2 separate regions of the Homo sapiens genome follow, and region 1 is linked to region 2. Evidence: promoter capture Hi-C in 16 types of primary human blood cells and fetal thymus (Javierre and others, 2016). All regions are on one chromosome and are shown on one strand. Each heading gives the region's core, a stretch centred on a gene start or on the middle of the fragment in contact. The rest is flanking DNA. Distances are from core to core; before and after follow the strand shown. Region 1 has its middle 30 kb from the start of TJP2. Region 2 holds the start of TMEM252 (transmembrane protein 252).

What was found. Contacts are between HindIII fragments. The CHiCAGO score rates a contact against its expected background, and 5 or more counts as called.
Region 1: a contact is called between a fragment that was not itself captured here and the fragment with the promoter of TMEM252 in region 2, in 1 of 17 cell types (monocytes). The highest score is 6.1, in monocytes.

Annotation. Positions count from the first base shown.
Region 1 is chr9:69,141,520-69,148,029 of GRCh38, forward strand. It overlaps a transcript of TJP2 not described here. Among named protein-coding and RNA genes, the nearest start is that of TJP2, 30 kb to the right of the region's middle. The HindIII fragment of the contact is 3,032 bases long and covers 1,288-4,319 here.
Region 2 is chr9:68,536,868-68,543,807 of GRCh38, forward strand. TMEM252 (transmembrane protein 252) reads right to left here and starts at 4,016. Exons shown (of 2, transcript NM_153237.2): 1 at 3,670-4,016; 2 at 1-626. The coding sequence starts at 3,947. The coding sequence ends at 392. It overlaps TMEM252-DT (TMEM252 divergent transcript), which reads left to right and starts at 4,158. Exons shown (of 5, transcript NR_187592.1): 1 at 4,158-4,363; 2 at 5,511-5,775. It overlaps LINC01506 (long intergenic non-protein coding RNA 1506), which reads right to left. Exons shown (of 4, transcript NR_109769.1): 4 at 6,674-6,736. The HindIII fragment of the contact is 3,743 bases long and covers 3,541-6,940 here.

The sequences.
Region 1 (6,510 bases), core at 1,554-4,053, 600 kb after region 2:
AAAAGAAGGACAGATGGGAGAGAGGAAGGGAGGGAGGGATGATATCCACCGAATGTATATACATTACGGCATTATTTATTAATTCATTTTGAGACAGAGTCTCACTCTGTCACTCAGGCTGGAGTGTAGTGTCATGATCTTGGCTCACTGCAACCTCCACCTCCTGGTTCAAGCGATTCTTATGCCTCAGCCTCCCGAGTAGCTGGGATTACAGGTGCCCACCACCATGCCCGGCTTTTTTGTATTTTTAGTACAGACAGAGTTTCACCATGTTGGCCAGGCAGGTCTTGAACTCCTGGCCTCATGTGATCCACCCACCTCGGCCTGCCACAGTGCTGGGATTACAGGCGTGAGCCACAGCACCTGGCTGCATTTATTATTTAAAACAAGCCCTGTGTTGTGGTCTTAGTCTAGCTGTACGAATGATGGAACAGAGGTTCAGAAAGGTCAGTAACTTGTTCAAGGTCACCAGGTCTTAAACAGTAGAGGTGGGATTCAAACCAAGTCTTTCCCCTGTGTCATGGGGTTGGTATGACTGGGGACACACAGGAATGGATGAGGGTGTCTTCAAGGTCTCATGCTGGGTGAACCAGGAGGTGGATGCACAGAAGCCGGAAAAGGCAAGGGGCACTGTAGCTGGCGCTGGGCACATGGGTTATTTCCAATAGATACTGGGTTGTGCCAGAGGACAGGATTGGAACGATAAATTTGATGACATCCAGTTGAAGGTAATAGTTTAAACCTAGTAGTGAATATGTTCTGAGGATGAATGACTCTGAGGAGAGAAGGCTAGTTTGGGCTGAGCAGGTGAGTCTAAAAGAGCCACACTAAACTTTATTAACTCTTTGGTAATTCTTTTACATCACGTAATCTGCTTTTCTTACAGTGTATTGGTGGGGCATCTGAGTAGCAAATATGTAAAGATATTATTTATGAGCATATTAAGGAGGAGAGAAATGAAATGCTTTTTTCAGTAGAGCTAAAAAAGCAAAAACAAAAAAATTGCTGTTTCCCTAACTCTTCTACTTTTAGTTAAAGCTTTTTTCAGCTCCTGAAAAGCAGACCACACCCTATAAAACAGACTGTACAGGGCATTAGTTCATTTCCCTTTTTATACTTCCAAAGCACAGTAACTGTTAAAACACCCAGTGAAGAAGCATGGCCACTGTCTTTCTCCAGAAGAAATAAAGTAGAAATATTAGTTGAAAGGAAATGTCAGTCTGATCTGTGAAGTTTTATGTTCAATTTTAATCATCCAGAAAGAAAACTTGAGCATCCTGACTTAAAAGCTTTTTTTGGATCATGTATATTTAAAAACACTTTTAATAGATAAATGATTTTTAGTTAATAGTTCCAGTTATAAACAATTTCTAGAATTGTAAGGGAATTAACCCAATATATGCATATTTCTAAATAATTTCTAGAATTATGAAGTGTCATATCTGGAAGGGGTATTTTGGCTAGATTTGTTATTTCCTGTGTTATTAACCTTATGTATAATTATGAGAGATTCCACACAAAGATGACAATTTTAAAAAATGAATAAATAAATTAGCAAGTTGAACAGTCTGATTTATGGAAGAAAAGCAAATTCTTTCTAATATTTGCTAAGGCAGAATTATTTTCCTAATGAAAGACACAATTTTAATTTTATGTGAAATCATCATAGATAAGAATCACTTTGTAAGAGCTGCATGTTAAATGCATCGAAAATTCCAATAAAAAATGAAACTTTAAAACATCCCATTTGCAAAATATCATGTCACTTTTCACTGCAGGAGAACAGCTTCCAATGGGTAACAAGTTTAAGTTGATTTTTTCTTGTTGTTAGCTCAGGCTTTGTTACTTATTTAGAGTGTTGTATAGTAATTTTTATCATGCGTCATCAGAAATACAATTTGTTAGAACAATGACTGTTGTGTGAGTGTAATTACATCTTCCTGTATGATTAAATGAGGGCTGTATGGGACCTTTACTCAGAGGTGGCAGCTGTAGCCAACCAAGTTCAGCCTATAAAAGAATTCCTGGGACTAACTGGTACTAATTGTTTGCAGAACAACCAGTGGGAGTAATATTCATGAATACTATGGAAATGAAATATTCCAAGACCAAATGCTTTAGCCCTTGTTTTTTACTTTATTGTGGTCAGATTATATTAATTGCATAATCAGGCCAAGTGAAGTGGGAGCTCTTGGTCTTTTGTTGTTTTTGGAAGAAAACTTAGCCTTCATCTATTCAGTCCTCTCATCTTATAAACAGGGAAATTGAGGCTTAGGGAGTAGTTGAAGGGTTATTTAAAGTCACCAAACTGTAATATACCCTGTCAGAGTTTTAAGTACACTCATATACCCCTGTCAGATTTTTAAGTACACTCTACCGTATACATGAGTATATTAGTTTGTAAATAGTGTACCTTATTACAATTTAAAAGATATTAGTTCTCAAGGTAAATATTATGAATATTCAAAACACAAACATTCAATTTTATTTTTTATTTTTTTGAGACAGAGTCTCTCTCTGTCACCCAGGCTGGAATAAAATGACACGATTATAGCTTACTGCAGCCTCGAACTTGTGGGCTCAAGTGATCCTCCTGCCTCAGCCTCCTAAAGTGCTAGGAGTACAGATGTGAGCCACGTGCCCAGCAACACTCAAATTTTTAAAGCATGAGAGAAGAAAAGAGGAAATAGATGGCATAATACTTTCTTCCCACATCCCAAAGATTGTTGGTATGTGCACCTCACTTTGGAGATTTAGGTCATTTAGGTCAAAAGAAACTTGCTATTGAGGAAAGAGAATCTGTAGAAGTAGGGTTTAAGATTTGCGGGGATGGGGAAGGGTTTGGGACACTCACTTTGGACATCTAGGTTAATCAGAGTTACTGCATAATGGCTCCCCTTCTATTTTGCTTCCCTTTATGTATGGGTTTGTTTAGACAAGGAGCAGCATGACTCTTGTATGTTGCCATAGCACATCAAATAGGAAAAAAAAATAGCTTGAAGAAGTTGGTGAGGAAGGAGCTATTTAAGTCAGAACTCTCAGAGTGACAAACTCAACTAAAATTAAATTTCACAAAAGTCAATTTATTAGCTTTCATAAACGATAACTGTAATCTCCTAGGGTGACAGTGGCCTCCGGCATAGCTGGATCCAGAAGCTCGAGTGATGTCATGACATTTTTCTTGGTACTGTTTTTCTCAACTATTGTAATACTAGTGAAGAGCCCTCTCCATGTGGCGGGGCACATGACTACTATCAAGAGCTCCAACTTCCTATCAGCCCTGGTTAGCAAATCCAATGGAAACAGGACATTTCCCTCCTACAGTCATCTGTTCACCCCAGGGAAGACTGGTTGACCCAGTATGTGGATCATGTGTACCATGGCCCATTGAGTGGGCCACCATGATAGGTGGTCCACCTTTACCCATGGACAAAGGGTAAGGAAGCTCTTCAAAGCCAAGAGGAGACTTAAAGAAAATGGAGATGAGGTAGATTCTGAACCTCTCCAAACGATATATTTTCATGATGGCAGGGATCACACATGTTGGGTTCTAGAGGTATTTAAAAAGTTGTTTTTAATAATAATTTTAAAAACCCACCAAATTGTTTCTTAATTAATTAATCTTTGCTATTGACCCAAGCAAGGAGTTTATAGTGCTTAGAAATGCATTGCTATAAAATGACAACTAGAATTCCTTCCTCACTTGTCAAAGCACAGGCTTTTAGAGAGAGAGATATTTGTAGAAAGAGCAAATCTGTTTCTGATTTTAGTTCATCCAGTGGCAGGCAGGCTTTTTGGACCAATTATTACCAGACCTTGAGATAAATCACCTCATGAGCCATTAGTTCTTGAAGGATTAGCGGCCTCAAAGATTTATGTGCGGATTAATTGGAGTGTACATTAGATCGCCGTGTTTAAAACCGCAGTCATTCCTGCAAATCATTTTCATTAGTGCTTTATTCAGAATTATTTAGCCTTGTATAATACTGCCATTGCAGGGAAATCTGAAAGACGTTCTCTTTATTTGTGGTCTGCCCCCCCATCACCACGGTTGTGTTTAATAGATCTAGCTAGGGCTACATAGAGAACATCCAAAGGAACAGCAGCTTCCATTAAAGATTAGTTCAGTTGCTTCAGGTGAACAGTGACTGAAATTTACAGGACCTTGTACCGAGAGAGACAAGATGAGGTACAAGAAATATATCGGTATTCTGGAAGCAGCAGTTGGTATTACCCCACTTAACAAAAGAGAACTTCTACCTGAGAGCAGAAGACACGTGAACCTTTGGCAACAACCTGGGTAAGCAGAGGAGGCTGGAAGCTTCTCACTATAGATGTAAATACTTTTTGTCTGTTTTGGGGACCCATATAGAAAAAAGGGTCCTCTGTCTTGTGGGGATAATAAATGAGTTCTTCATTAAGAACTTGTTTCTTCTTGGTGGAGAATGGAACTCCTAGACTGATTTAAAAATAGGAATGAAATTGTTGGATAATATTCTAATACCCAAGAAGATGAATAATGGGTGTGTCTAGAGCCCATTTTTACAATCTAGACATTTAATTTTCTGATTTTGAAAATGTTTTTTTAACATGGTTTACAAATGTAGCAATTCTTAAGAATGAAGAAAATATGCCTTATTACTATAATGTTTTTCAACAATACAAGTGTTTTTCTGATTAAAGTGTATGTGCAGACTATGCTTCGGGGAAATACTTTGCTTGAAACAGCAGTTTTCCTTCCACATCTCTTTCTGCAGCCCCACTGATTTACCATGATGAAGAAAGGTTGAGAAGTTCTTTATGCATAGCTACAAGCCTTAGTTCTAACTTTCTTCTCTGAAGTCTTCTTTTGTGCTTCTTACACATTAAAGACAAGGTGAATTTAAGGTGCCTTTATGGTAGACGATATTTTTAGGGCCTGAATTTAATTTTCAAACTGAATGAGTCACACAGTAGCATGTACTGATCAACTTGCATCTGTGTAGCAAATATTTCTTTTTAACAATTAGATAGTTACTAGCTTATTTTTATCATATGAGCAATGTACATTCATTATAGAAGATTTAGAAAATACAGAAAAATAAGGGGGAAAATTACCCATTGTCCTATCTCCCCAAGAGAACTACTAGAATCGTTTAGGTCAGTGGTTGTCAACGGGGAGGTGGAAATAGGGAATTTTGCTCCCCAGGGGACAATTGTCAATGTCTGGGGCATTTTTTTTGTTGTTATAGCCCAGGGGTTGCTATTGGCATCTAGTTGGTAGAGTCTGGGGATACTGCCCAACATCCCACAAGGTACAGGACAGCCCCCTGCAACAACGAATTATCCAGCCCACAGTGTCAACGGTGCCACTGGTGAGACATTTGATTTAGATAGGTTTTCTTCCCATCTGTAAAAGGGTACATTTTATTAGAAAAAAATAAATATTTCTTTGGGAAATCTTAGAGATGCTTTAGAATGGAATTCTGAGGCAACATTTTAATTATATTATTGTTATTCTACTGTTATTGTCTTGAAAGTAAATGGAAGTGTGTATATGCGTGGAGAGGGCAGGGGGCATACAGAGACTCTATCAGAGTCCATGTAGGTTAATGCTGTTCAGCCAGGGCTGTGGAAAACATTGTAATGACTAAACTGAGATTCTCCAAGTAGCCTCTCGTGATTGGGCATGCGGTAGCCTAGACCTTAGTCTCAGAATGACGAAAGTTTAGAACTGGGAGGACCTTTGCCAGGGATGGCAAACAGGTTTCATGTGGAAGACAGGTGCCAGTTGATGGTTGGCTGCTTGGAGTATCTAGCTAGGAGGACCTGGAGGCCAAACCTGGGCTTAGCGGGAAAGGAATATCGCAACTGATTAGGGATGTTTGTTCTGAACCTATGATTAGGGAATTGGGGAGATGCAAGCCGTGGCCTATATATTTACCATTCCTGAATTCTAGTTTAGTGTTCGAATTTTACAAGTGGGAAACTCAGCCTCATTGGAGTCATCCTGATCAAGGGCCTGGCTCTCAGACAGAAACGGGATGTTCTTAGTTTCTGCCTCAGGGTCTTTCATGAAGGGATTCGGCCTAAACAAGCTCCCATGATTCAGATGTGCAAGTTGATTGCTAGATTATTAATTTTTGTTCAGAGATAACCTCTACTAGCAATTGGAATAAGTACCCTAAATAGACCTAAATAGATCTCTGCTTCTCCTCATTTCCCCAAATCAAACCAAACAGAAGTCAAATTATTACAAAGTAGCCCTTAATAAGGGAAGTTGAATGTGCCTTTTTTTTGAGAGAGAGAACGTTTCCTTAAGCTGGATGAAATAGCATTGGATCAGAGGACGAACAAGATCTTCCTTGTACCTATAATACTCTTTGAGTTCTGTGAATACACAGGGATAAAACATTTCACTGATCACTTTTTTTTTTTTTTTTGAGACAGTATTTAGCTCTTGCTGCCCAGGCTGGAGTGCAATGGCACAATCTTGGCTCACTGCAACCTCCGCCTCCCGGGTTCCAGAGA
Region 2 (6,940 bases), core at 2,766-5,265:
GAAGGCATGTGGCTGTCCTGACAACCAGCATCTATTCCTCCCTGGCTGGAGTTGAGGTGATGGGAGGGAAATTGAGTGACAGCAGAAAGAATCTCTGTAAGCAGAGCTCTCAGAGTGACACCTTTGGGGACCCAAGGCCAGCCGGGGTTAAGATTAGTGTGAATGCTCTGAAATGTCTGCTTGGTGTTGGCCACACCCTTCCAGGGCCCCTGGCCTGCCCTGCCCTGGCATGGCCAGTTATGTCTGGAATTCAGGGCTGTCATCCCCTCCCCAAGCTCTCTTGTGGGGTCCCTGGTGTGGCTTTTCCTCCCACAGTCCCTCGTTTGCCTTTATTATCAGTAGCTGCTCCCCACAGTGGTGGCATCATGAGTGCTGGAGAGCTTTCTCTGCCTCAGCACTCTTGGCCTCGCCTCTGGGCGTCCTCTGAGATTGCTGTCACCACCAGGCCGGCTATGGACTCTCTATAAGATGGTGGGGCCTCTGGGTGGGAGTCATTTCCATCCTGGAATTCCAGGCCCGTCTCTGTATATAGAGGTGGAGGAATGCCAGAGGCCTCTCTCTCTGCAGGACAGCTCTGCTTTTCCACCTCAAGGCTCTCTTCATAAGCTGGAGGGTAAAAGTCTGGCCTAGGGGACAAAACAGCATAAACATGCGTGCGTTATTTAGGCATTAATGCCAAAGAGGCAGACGGCTGCCTCTCTCAGCTCAAATTGTGCGAAGCTAAACTGTTAAGAAACATGGATTTTTGAAACAGATGTACTTCTTCCTGGCATCACCAGTTTTTTAAAAATGTGCTGCTCTTCCAAAAGAACCTTTTTATCAGCCACAGGATGCCTGCCTCTAGTCACATTTTTTTCCCAGTGGGTTATGCCAAGCTATTCCTTCTCTATTGCTCATTCACTCATGAAAACAGGGCCATTCAGTGTGAGATCCTTGTCAACATTAGAGGAGGTGGGGGCTTTGGATAGGGAACTTCTCTCTACCGAGTACTTAGTCCATCCACATCCTTGCTCCCTTTCTCGCATGGCATCATCCCCTCAATTGCACTCACTTTCTCTGATCATCACAGCCAACAAAATAATGAATGAAAACCAACTCTGTGCTGATCCCTGAACTATACCAGATGCCATGTCTCTATCCTAACACCCTTTCGAGACTCAGTAGCTAGTTTCAAAGAAAATATACAAACATATTCATTTCTCAAATGATATCAACTGACAACTTTACACAGATTTCAGTTGTAGCCCTTTCTATGCCAGTAGGCTAAAGCAGCCATTCATTCGGGGGCTGATGTACTCATTGGTCATCTTGCCTGGCATTTCTAATTGCTAAATCCTCCTGGCTTCTCCATCATGAATGAATTTGGGGGAAGGGGAGAGGGGAGGAAGAGAGACCGGTGAGCTTGGCTGAGTTGTGTATTTATAGAGTGATCCTTCCAGTGCCTACAGGGAGTGTTTATGGTGTGTAACCACAACAGAACAGGGACTGCCATTTGTAGCCACAACTCCATTCCAAATGTTACCAGGCCCAAAGCCAGTAGCTGAAGAAGCTGTCTACTATAAGGCATAAATCTCAGCCTTCGCTCAGAATAGCCAAGGCTGAGTCACGGGGCACATGTGTAAAGGCATTTTACACAGAAAGGTGAGATGTTCCCTGGAGTGATGTGAAAGGTTCCAGGATGACTGCTGCCTGCCCCAAATCCCAGCTACCTCTCCCAACCCCACCCTCCTTCAACTGCCATCCATATTCCCAGTCCCCTGAATTCCATCATCGGAGACCCATTTGCTTTGATATCTCAACCTGGGTATCCATTTTGAGTGCAAATGCTTTGGAGAAATGTGACTTCCCAGGCTGACTTGCCAGCCATTCTGCGTGGGATAAGCATCTTATTACATGCAGCGAGAAGAGGCAGTAAAATGGGGGTGTTACGATGTCCATAATTTACTTTCAAACATTTCAGTATACTGTAATATTATGCAGTGTTAGTCAATTTAAGCTATATCCTAAAGGCAATCAGTTACATTTATCAGAAATTCACACTCTAGAGGTAGTCCTCTAACATTTATACAAAAAGAAATCATCACTCTAGAGGCATCTTCTACAATCACTTCATTTCTCTTAATTTTTAATCAAACCCAGAAACTCTGCTGGTTAGTATAACATTGGAAATAAGTTTTGGTTTTCATAATTATTATCTTATTAATTAGCATAAAGGATGCCAAAAGTGGATGCTCATGGGTAAGATTACTTATATTCAAGATACATGGAGTAGCTAAAATATTTTAGATACTTTCTACTCTTGCACGAAGAGGGCAAAATAATTATAGTCTTGTAGCCTGTATCTTGAGAATGATGCCTAGGGTGTTATCCCTAAATGGTCCTGTGGCTAGCCAAGAATTAGGAGGTTTCTTGTTGCCTGATACTGACTATAAGATTAACTGAATCTTTTTTTTCTTGTGGTAAAATATATATGACATAAAATTTACTGTTTTTAAGTGTATAGCTCAGTGGCACTAAATACACTCATATTGCTCTACAACCATCACCTTAAAACTCTCTACTCATTAAACAATAGGTCCCCAGTCTCTCCTTCCACCAGCCCCTGGGACCACTGTTCTACTTTCTGTGTCTGTGAATTTGACTACGCTAAGTACTCATGTAAGTGGAATTATACAATATTTGCCCTTTGTAACTGACTTGTTTCACTTAGCATAATGTTTTCAACTTCATCCAAGTGGTGGCATGTGCCAGGATTTCCTTCCTTTTTAAGGCTAATATTCCATTGCATGTATATACCACATTTTGTTTATCTACTCACCTGTTGATGGACATTTGGGCTATTATGAATAAATGTTGCTACAAGCATTGGTGTACAAACATCCATTTGAATCCCTGCTTTCAGTTCCTTTGTGTATAAACTCAGAATGTAGAATTGCCAGATCAAACAGTAATTCAATATTTAATGTATAGAGGAGTCTCCACACTGTTTTCCACAGTGGTTGCACCATTTTAACATTCCCACCAGCAATGCACAGCGTTCCAATTTATTGACATCCTCACCAACACTAGCTGTTTGGTTTTGTTTTTTGATGATAACTATCCTAATGTATGAGATGGCGAGAAAGAATGAATCTTGCCTCTAGAATATTATCACCTTCCCCTGAAGGAATGTTTTATGCAAGGTGAGATCACAACACCTAAAAGGACAGTAAACTGGGACTTTTCTGAGCTCACAGAGATTCCAGGACTCATTTTATGCCTGCTTCTTCATTTGTTGTGTGGCAGAATTTGGTCTGGGACTTGCTTTCCTTAGAACCTCATAGCCAGGTTATGGGAAGTAACTAACCATCACCTGCCACTAATTAATGACAGCTGCCATGATATAACAAAAGAGCCTGGGTTTCTAAATTGGCTTAGGTGGGTTTTCACTGGGGGTGGTGGTAGGGTTTCTCTGAGATGAGTTGCCCCTGCGTCATGGTTTTCCCCAAAGATGGCGCCACTCTTCCTAATAACAACCCCAGAGTAATTCCCTGACAATAAAGCTTTGGTTCTAGACAGACAGCCCATGGGACATGTAAGTCGCTCCATAGTAGGATCAGAAATTACTCAGATCTTACACAACTCAGCCCATCTCAGCCCTTCTTGGTCCCTCTGCCTGTCAGCACGTACCTGTCTACTGTGGCCACGGGCAGGGCCCCATGAGCAAGGTGTTGTCGGAGCATGTGCCTCAACACTCCTTTGCTTTCAGTCACCTGGCGATAGTTGCTCCAGAAAATTCCACTCAGAAGGATCACAAACCCCAGAGGCAGAAGCAAATAGGCCGCAATCAGGCTCCCCTGACAGTCGAATATGGAGCCCCAGGAAATGAAGAAGGCCCCCAGGCAGACCATCAGGAAACCCATCAGGAGGGCAAGAGCACAGAGAATGAGGCCAGTTCTGTTCTGCATCCTTGCACCTTAGGAACCCAGCACCCTGACCCTGCTGCTCCTCTGCTTCCCTGCTTGCTCCAAGAGAATGAGCTCATTAGCCAGCTTGCAGCTTTATATGCTCTGGGACCCACTGGCCTTTGGACAACTAAATGAAACAGGCACTTAGAAGCTATTCATTAACCATTGAAAGTAAGTGTAATATCCTTGGAGAATTAGCCAAAAAACATAGCATTGTATACTGCAGGCAGGAGTGGCTTCGTGTAGCTGTTTTGTTCTTCAGAGTTGGGTGGGACACTCAGCTGTTCCCAGTTATTTGAACGTACAGCCCTCCTTTGATTAAAAGGCGCTGGTCTCTTAATCCCCATGGAGGGCAATTCCCCACTAAAAGCTGGAGAAGTTAGCACTCTTTAAAGAACGATCTTCTTTGAGGTTTGGTAAGAAATCCCTTCCTGATTCCTTCTCCCTTTTTCTGTACTAAAAAGGCATTTCTTCAAGGCTGTTAACATGTTTGTCTTGCCTCCCTCAATGAATCCCCACTTATTGCCCCCACACTATGATACTGGCATAATTCCAAGACAGAAGTTCAGAGTGTGAACTTCGTGGTTCCTGCTCTGTTGACAAGATCGAAAGAGCCTGAGTGGGAGGGAAAGGAGAGTGCTGGAGAAAAGGACTATAATAGACAGAGCCTCGGGAATTTGGGGGGATTTTGGGCCTGTAATTCCTGCAATCTTTCCCCCTTTCATAAAGTACATATGAAATAGAATTCGTTTTAGAGGATGCTGCTAAAAATGTTCCCTGTCCTCTCCTCCACACCTCTGCTCTATGTAGCATTGCCTCAAAAAATCTTTCCAGAACCAGCCTTCTGTTTCCTGGCTGGAATTTGTTTTCTTTAGCTTGACTGTCTTTGATTGTGGATAGCTTATTTCAGACGTGCTTTATGCCCTGGCTCTGCCCTTTTTTATTTGATAATGTGGCATGTCTCTGCCAAAAGTCTCCTTCCCATAGGAACCCTGGGTTGCTTTTACTCAGGATAGCTTATCTTCAGTTCCTCTTTGCTGCTGTTCCACTCCACTACTCCATTACCATTATTTTCCATTTACTTTCCCAATGAGAGCAGCAGTTTTTTGTGGCGTGCCCTAATAATCCCTCATATAACCTTTAGTCTCACACTCACCATCTCCTTAGCTCTACCTTCATGTTAGGGCTGGGAGACACGGATATTAGAGAGGTACACACTATGGATCAAAAACTATATAAGGCACTTCTCCATTCCAACCCTTAGCCTTTACCTTTCTTAGCTTCAATTTCGACCTTGAACTACCTTGATCTTCTAGTCTTGATATTGTCTTTGTAATCTTAAAACAGCTCTTATTCCCTCCTTCCCCAAACTGTGAGATGGAATATTTCTAAGATGATCCCTAAGGATCCCACCTCCTGATATTCATGTCCTTGTGTAAGTAATCCTCTCCCCTGAGTGTAGGCTGGACCTAGTGACTTCATTCTAATCAATAGAATATGGTAACGGTGATCGGAAGTTACTTCCGTGGAGGCTACACAAGATTGTGGTTTTCATCTTTCTAGCAGACTCTCTCTATTGTCCTCTTGGCTTACGCCCTTTGAAGAAGGAAGCTGCCATATTGGAGAGGCCCATGAGGCAAGGAATTGAGGGCAGGTTCTGGCCAACAGTCACTGAAGAACTGAGGCCCTTAGTCCGTCAGCCCATGAGGAACTGCATCCTGTCAATGACCACGTGAGCTTGCAATCAAATCCTCATCCCACTGAGCCTTGAGATGACTCTGCTCCCAAGCATCACCTTGACTCAGTGACCCTGAAGTAGAGGACCCAGGTAAGTCATACTCGGATTCCTGACCCACAGAAACTGTGAGATAAAACGTTTCAGCCAGGGTCCTGGATGCCACAAGATGGCAAGAGCCATAATCAATGAATGCATTATGATCAAATCATTTCATGTTTATGGATGTCACTATTTTAACAAATAAAAGAGGTCAAAAGTTTAAAAAAAGTATATTTTAAAAATATGCTAAGTTTTGTGGCCATTTTTTAGATAGCAGTAGATAACTAAAAAAATTCTCTTAGAACTTTGAAAATCAGAAGAGACAATCAATGTTAAGTATTTATCATAGTACCTGGCACAGAGAGTGCCCTGTGAAGGTTATCTATAATCACCATCACCAATATTGTTATTATCATTGCTGTTACAATTCCAAAAATCTGTGGAAGACCCAGGACCCCCAGCTGAAAGGTCTGCACTAGGAGTTGGGTCCCAGGAACAGGTAGATGGTAAAGCCCCAGGATAATGTTAAGAATCAGGTGATGGAGGAAGAGTACTCTCAATCGGAACTGCCCATCAGACAGTTGGGCTTCTCTGTTTTAGACAAAAATGGAGGCAGAAATTAGACTGGGGATTATGACAGGTCAGGCCTCATTCTTGTGATCACATCAACACATGAGTAAATAAGTTTCTCTATACTTTTTCCTCCTCCATGCCAATAAAGTACACTAGAACCATTGCCTTATAGTTTGTCAGACAGTTCCTTCCCCTCCAGTGCCCTTTGAGGAGGCTCCTGTCATTCCACAGCAGTGTTGTTGTTGTGATGGTGGTGGTGGTATGTTTTTGGTGAGAAATTAGGTATGGAAGAGCAAAATCCAGGAAGTGGCAGGGGGATGGAAGGACTCAGTCCCTTTACATAAAATTTATGTGAAATTAAGAATAGTTCCTGGGCTCAGGGTATTTGAGGAATTTATTTTGGGCATCAAGGGGAAAAGGCTGGGAATATTTGCAGCATCTGTGGGAAGGAGACGAGAAAAGGAAAAAAAATCAATATGGAAATATGAAGTATCACAGGGAACCATATTTCTCCTTCAAAATGACTAAGAAATACTAATGAACACCACACAGTCTATCTGTGTAATAAAACTGTACCTGAAATACCTCCTAAATCTGTACAAATAAAAACAAACAAATTTAAAAGGCAAAAGAGAGAGAAATA